Regions from separate parts of the Homo sapiens genome. Here region 2 is linked to region 1. The links are contacts of gene promoters, found by promoter capture Hi-C in human tissues and cell types (Jung and others, 2019). All regions are on one chromosome and are shown on one strand. Each heading gives the region's core, a stretch centred on a gene start or on the middle of the fragment in contact. The rest is flanking DNA. Distances are from core to core; before and after follow the strand shown.

Region 1 (3,553 bases), core at 270-2,769:
TTTGACCATAAAAAGGAATTAGTAGTGATACATGCTACATCATGGATAAACTTTGAGAACATTATGCTAAGTGAAAGAAACTGGTCACCATGGCCCCATTTATAGGATATGTCCAGACTAGACAAATGCAGAGAGGCAGAAAATACATTAGTTGCCTAGGCCTGGGGCAGGGGGAAAATGGGGAGTGACTGCTAATGGGTCTAGGGATTCTTTCTGGGATAACGAAATTGTTGTAAAACTGATATGGTGATGTTTACACAACTCTATGAACATATGAAAAAACCTCTGAATTGTACTACACTTTAAATGAGTGTATTGGTACGGAAATGTGAACTCAATAAAGCTGTTTAAAAAACAAAACACCTAAGGTCTAGTATATACGTTCTTTGTGGAAAACAAGGTACATTCAAGACAAATAAATAACTATGAACTGATCTGATTACTAACCAAGACCATGCTTGAGGCACTTAGAATTAAGAATTTAACATACATTCCTTACTAGCTAAAAGATTACCCCTTTAAATATGTCTAAATCTCAACGAAAATGGACCTGCAGTACTTGCAACTGTCAGGGCATAAAATGGGATTCACGAAAGATACCTGAGTAAACACGTTCCTTTCCTGTACATGGCTGAACTGTACTTCCCATTACAAAAAAAAAAACAATAACTGCAGAAAAATACTCCACCGGGAGCCGGAGAAATTCTCAAAGAAGAATCTAATACTGAGCTAAGACAAGGGGTGGAAAGAATGAGGAAGGGGAAGGAGCACAGAGTAGGGGGAGGTCTCCATGCATTTAAGCCCAAGGAGTCCAGTTACATTAAATCCAACTTTTAAACGCTTTGTGAACAGGCCCAGAGGCAAAGTCCTGGGCGCAAACCCACGAGCCGAGCTGCGAGGCTGAGAGGAAGTGCTAGTCCAGCCCAACCCCGCACTGGATTTGGTGTGGAAACCGTCAGAGGTAAAAGGGATCGCTCAGATGGGGGGCCCGCGGTGAGGGCAGGAGGCAAAACCCCACCGCCCGGCGCTCCCAGCCAGCGCGCAGCGGGAGGCGGCTGTGCCGCGGGCCCGTCCTTCGCGTCCGAGCTGCCGCGCACGCCCCGCGCGGAGCGCGGCACCGGGAGCCTCCGGTGGGGCTGGGTCCCGTCTCCCGCCCCATCCGGCGCTTTGTCCCAGCCCCGGTGGCCGGCGGCCCCGCTGCGGGCCCCCGGGCCGCGGTGACAGCCCCCGTCCCCATAGGGCTGCGAGCCCGGGAGTCCCTATAGGCTGGCGACCGGTCGCCCGCCGGACCTCACCCAGGCGGGACGCGGCAGGAGGACGCTCGCCCTGCCGGAGGGGCCGCCGCCGCCGCCCGAAGCGCACGCAGGCCAAGCTCAGGCGCCAAAAGCCTTGGACTTCGAAACACACGACTTCCAACATCCTAAGCTTACCCAAAAATTCTCGACGAAATACGCCATGACCATCGTGCCGCCGCCGCGCCGGGTTCCGCGTCCGCGCCCGCCCGCCGCTGTGTAAACACGGCCCGGCCCCCACAGCACCCCCGCCTTTCGCCGCCGCCGCCTTCTTCCCAGAGACCGGCCCGCACCTTCCAGGGCGCATGCGCCACCTAGCGGCTGCCGCAGCTGGGCGAGCACTTAGACGCCACGGCCACGGTGTGCGCATGCGCCCTGTCCCCATTCTCGGGTGTTGGTAGATCTCTCTGCATCCCGGGCGCGGCTGGGTTGAGTGTTCTCTTAGGAATGGTGGAGAACTGGGTCCTTGAGGAGTCACCGGGGAGACTGCTCGCACTGTTTGTGGTGCGACGGGCACTGGCCCAGGGACAGAGGGAAGAGAAGGGCCAGCCAGCGGCAGTGGAGTCGGCAGGCTGGCTGCCCACTCGCTTTCTCTCCTCACAAGACTCGCTTCCCCGGCCTTCGAGGATCTCGAACGGACTATAGTCTGGACTCGCTGGGCTGGAGGAAACTTGGCCGCTGGCCACCCGGAGGAGACTGAGAAGCCTTTGGTCAACAGGGCGCCTTTCCTTGAACCAAAACAAAACTTTCCGAAGCCGGAAAGGAAACGCCCAGTGTCGCCTGAGAGCCCTGGAGCTGCGCGAGACCCAGGCACTGAGTGCGGCCTCGGCCTCTGACCTCTAACACGCCGGGAACAAACCAGCTGGGGCGGCCCGCAGGCCTGCGGGAGCGGAATGTGACCCGAAACCGACGGACTTCCTGACCCATAGTCCATAGTTCTCTTCAGCAACTTGAACATTTTGGAAAAAGAAACAAGTCTTAACATGCCACGACCTAATGGAAAAACTAAATCCCCTTCCTACACCTTGCTTTCCAAAAGTTAAAAAAAAATAGTTAAACGCTATTAGAGGTCTCAAGTTCACTGTCACCAGATCAGCTAGGTCCAGAATCTTCAGTTCTTGAAGCCAAGCCCTACAAATAGATTTATTGTAGCATATCACACCTCTTCAGGTGACTTAAAACAATGAGAATTCATGAGAAATTATCTTCATCCTCAAGTAAAAATCATGAGGTGCCTTTCACATGGATGAAATTGTAAGTGCTTGTTGAACAAGGAATAATTGGATAATGGTATTGTGGTCATACTTTTTAAGAATATCTGTTAGAAAGATATAGGATGCAGAACATCTAGGATTTGCTGAAAGTCATTTATTATGGATAGGGGTATGAGTAAGGTCATAGATGAAAAGGGATGAAACAAGATTGGCCATAGTTGCTCTATTTTTGTGTATCTTGTTTCTTTATTTTGTTTCTTTAAAAAGTCCTCATATCACTGACATTTACACTTAGTTTTAGGGAAAGTCAAATTTAGAAATAAGCTACAGCTCTCTAAGCTATCGGTCTAACTGGATTTTTCTCGATGCTGAAGAACTTTTTAAAAAATTCAGCCATCTAGGTCACACAGCAAATACATTTGGCATTAAATTCCTAGTATCACTAAAGTACTCCCTCCCACCGCCGCGCCCCCCCCCTTCCCCCCGCACCCTTAGACCTGGGCAAGAGAGACTTCTATCCTGGACTCCATGCTTTAAAGGAACTTACATATCACACACACACATTAATTTAAAAAAAAATAGGTGCCCCTGCCGCTTGTGATCTGATACTGAACACTGGCTCATAACCATAAATTCCCTCTCCCAGTGAAGAACACTATTCAGGCCCCAGGAAAACTCTTCTTCCTATCTTTTGTCTTCTGTCCTCAAAACAAACGGTGAACTCCAAAAGCAGTGAAAATTTGTACATAGCATGGCTGCCCATTTCAGAGACTGCTTTGGAGTCAGAATTTGAGCAGCAGAAATGCTTAGGTAAGAGAGAAGACAAATTAACTTGTCAAATCCTTCATCTCAGCTTGAATGCTATAGATTCCTGCATGACAAAGTATTGTTTCTCAGTAGTATCAAGCATACATTTTCCTTTTGTTAGTGTTCCAATGTGTGGCTATTACCTACAGACAATTTAGTATAGTATTCACAATAGTTACTGGCCTTCATTCGCATTCTTCTGCTCCCCTTAAATTTAGGAGTAGATCTGGAATGAAAATA
Region 2 (3,318 bases), core at 797-3,296, 1.2 Mb after region 1:
CACCCAAGAATGATCCATAAATACTAAAAAAAAAAAAAAAAAAAAAAAAAAAAAAGTCAGGAAACAGCAGGTGCTGGAGAGGATGTGGAGAAATAGGAACACTTTTACACTGTTGGTGGGACTGTAAACTAGTTCAACCATTGTGGAAGTCAGTGTGGTGATTCCTCAGGGATCTAGAACTAGAAATACCATTTGACCCAGCCATCCCATTACTGGGTATATACCCAAATGATTATAAATCATGCTGCTATAAAGACACATGCACATGTATGTTTATTGCAGCACTATTCACAATAGCAAAGACTTGGAACCAACCCAAATGTCCAACATCAATAGACTGGATTAATAAAATGTGGCACATATACACCATGGAATACTATGCAGCCATAAAAAATGATGAGTTCATGTCCTTTGTAGGGACATGGATGAAACTGGAAACCACCATTCTCAGCAAACTATTGCAAGGACAAAAAATCAAACACCACATGTTCTCACTCACAGGTGGGAATTGAACAATGAGAACACTTGGACACAGGGAGGGGAACATCACACACTGGGGACTGTTGTGGGGTGGTGGTAGGGGGGAGGGATAGCATTAGGAGATATACCTAATGCTAAATGATGAGTTAATGGGTGCAGCACACCAACATGGCACATGTATACATATGTAACAAACCTGCACGTTGTGCACATGTACCCTAAAACTTAAAGTATAATAATAATAAAATTAAAAAAAAAACTTGCTTTATGAATCTGGATGCTCCTGTATTGGGTGCATATATTTTTAGGATACTTAGCTCTTCTTGTTGCATTGATCACTTTACTATTATGCAATGTCCTTTGTCTTTTTTGGTCTTTGTTGGTTTAAAGTCTGTTTTATCAGAGACTAGGATTGCAACCCCTGGTTTTTTTGTTTGTTTGTTTTCTTTTTTTTTTTTTTTTTTTTTTTTTTTTTGCTTTCCATATGCTTGGTAAATCTTCCTCCATCCCTTTATTTTGAGCCTACGTGTGTGTTTGCATGTGAGATGGGTCTCCTGAATACAGCACATTGATGGGTCTTGACTCTATCCAATTTGCCAGTCTTTATCTTTTAATTGGGGCATTTAGCCCATTTACATTTAATGTTAATATTGTTATGTGTGAATTTGATCCTGTCATTATGATGCTAGCTGGTTATTTTGCCCATTAGTTTATGCGGTTTCTTCATAGTGTCAATGATCTTTACAATTTGGTATATTTTTGCAGTTACTGGTACCAGTTTTTCCTTTCCATATTTAGTGCTTCCTTTAGGAGCTCTTGTAAGGCAGGCCTGGTGGTGACAAAATCCCTGAGCATTTGTTTGTCTGTAAAGGATTTTCTTTCTCCTTCACTTAAGAAGCTTAGCTTGGCTGGATAAGAAATTCTGGGTTGAAAATTCTTTTCTTTAAGAATGTTGAATATTGGCCCCCACTCTCTTCTGGCTTGTAGGGTTTCTGCAGAGAGATCTGCTGTTAGTCTGATGGGCTTCCCTTTGTGGGTAACCTGACCTTTTTCTCTGGTTGCCCTTAACATTTTTTCCTTCATTTCAACTTTGGTGAATCTGACGATTATGTGTCTTGGGGTTACTCTTCTCAAGGAGTATCTTTGTGATGTTCTCTGTATTTCCTGAATTTGAATGTTGGCCTGTCTTGCTAGGTTGGGGAAGTTCTCCTGGATAATATCCTGAAGTGTGTTTTTCAGCTTGGTTCCATTCTCCTTGTCACTTTCAGTTATACCAATTAAACATAAGTTTGGTCTGTTCACATAGTCCCATATTTCTTGGAGGCTTTGTTTGTTCCTTTTATTTTTTTTCTCTAATCTTGTGTTCATGCTTTATTTTATTAAGTTGATCTTCAATCTCTGATATCCTTTCTTCTACTTGATTGATTCGGCTATTGATACTTGTGTATGCTTCACAAAGTTCTCATGCTGTGTTTTTCAGCTTTATCAGGTCATTTATGTTCTTCTCAAACTGGTTATTCTAGTTAGCAGTTCCTGTAACCTTTTATCAAGGTTCTTAGCTTCCTTGCATTGGATTAGAACATGAATTTTTAGCTCAGAGGAGTTTGTTATTATCCACCTTCTGAAGCCTACTTCTGTCAATTTGTCAAACTCATTCTCCATCCACTTTTGTTCCCTTGCTGGCAAGGAGTTGTGATCCTTTGGAGGAGAAGAGGCATTCTGGTTTTTGGAATTTTCAGCCTTTTTGCACTGGTTTTTCCTCATCTGCATGGATTTATCTATCTTTGGTCTTTGATTTTGGTGACCTTCAGGTGGGGTTTTTGCATGGTTGCCCTTTTTGTTGATGTTGGTGCTATTGCTTTTTGTTTGTTAGTTTTCCTTCTAACAGTCACCCTCTTCTTCTACAGGTCTGCTGGAGTTTGCTGGAGGTCTACCCCAGACTCTGTTTGGCTGGGTATCACCAGCGGAGGCTGCAGAACAGCAAAGATTGCTGCCTCCTCCTTGCTCTGGAAGCTTCATTCCAGAGGGGCATCTGCCAGATGCCAGCTGGAGCTCTCCTGTATGAGGTGTCTGTCGACCTTTGCTGGGAGGTTTCTCCCTCTCAGGAAGCACGGGGGTCAGGGACCCACTTGAGGAGGCAGTCTGTCTTTTAGCAGAGCTCGAACGCTGTGCAGGGGGATCCGCTGCTCTCTTCAGACCCAGCAGGCAGGATTAAGTCTGCTGAAGCAGATCCCACAGCTGCCCTGGGAGTTTTATCTATAAGCCCCTGACTGGGGCTGCTGCCTTTCTTTCAGAGATGCCCTGCACAGAGAGAAGGAATCTAGAGAAGCAGTCTGGCTACAGCGGCTGTGTGGCACTGCAGGGGGTCCACCCAGTTCGAATTTCAGGGTGGCTTTGTTTACACTGTGAGGTGAAAACCACCTACTCAAGCCTCATTAATGGCAGACGCCCCTCCTTCCACCAAGCTCAAGCATCCCAGGTCAACTTCAGACTACTGTGCTGGCAGCGAGAATTTCAAGCCAGTGGATCTTAGCTTTTTGGGCTCCATGGGGGTGAGATCCACTAAGCAAGACCACTCAGCTCCCTGGCTTCAGCCCCCTTTCCAGAGGAGTGAAAGGTTCTGTCTCGCTGGCGTTCCAGGTGCCACTGGGGTATAAAAAAGAAATTCCTGCAGCTAGCTCAGTGTCTGCCCAAACGGCCGCCCTGTTCTGTGCTTGAAACCCGGGGTCCTGGTGGTATAGGCACCCGAGGGAATCTCCTGGTCTGCGGGTTGCAAAGACAGTGGGAAAAAGTGCTATCTGGGCCAGATAGCACTGTCTCTCAAGGAACAGTCCCACA

What was found. The method cuts DNA at HindIII sites, captures the fragments that hold promoters and counts their contacts. A contact is called where the count stands out against the background at its distance.
Region 2: a contact is called between a fragment that was not itself captured here and the fragment with the promoter of FCHO2 in region 1, in 1 of the 25 tissues and cell types used here (dorsolateral prefrontal cortex).

Annotation. Positions count from the first base shown.
Region 1 is chr5:72,954,007-72,957,559 of GRCh38, reverse strand. FCHO2 (FCH and mu domain containing endocytic adaptor 2) reads right to left here and starts at 1,519. Exons shown (of 26, transcript NM_138782.3): 1 at 1,431-1,519. The coding sequence starts at 1,463. It overlaps FCHO2-DT (FCHO2 divergent transcript), which reads left to right and starts at 1,676. Exons shown (of 2, transcript NR_186392.1): 1 at 1,676-2,546. RefSeq lists a silencer at 927-1,626. The HindIII fragment of the contact is 22,512 bases long and covers 1-3,553 here.
Region 2 is chr5:71,790,031-71,793,348 of GRCh38, reverse strand. No RefSeq gene overlaps it. Among named protein-coding and RNA genes, the nearest start is that of CARTPT, 72 kb to the right of the region's middle. The HindIII fragment of the contact is 5,518 bases long and covers 1-3,318 here.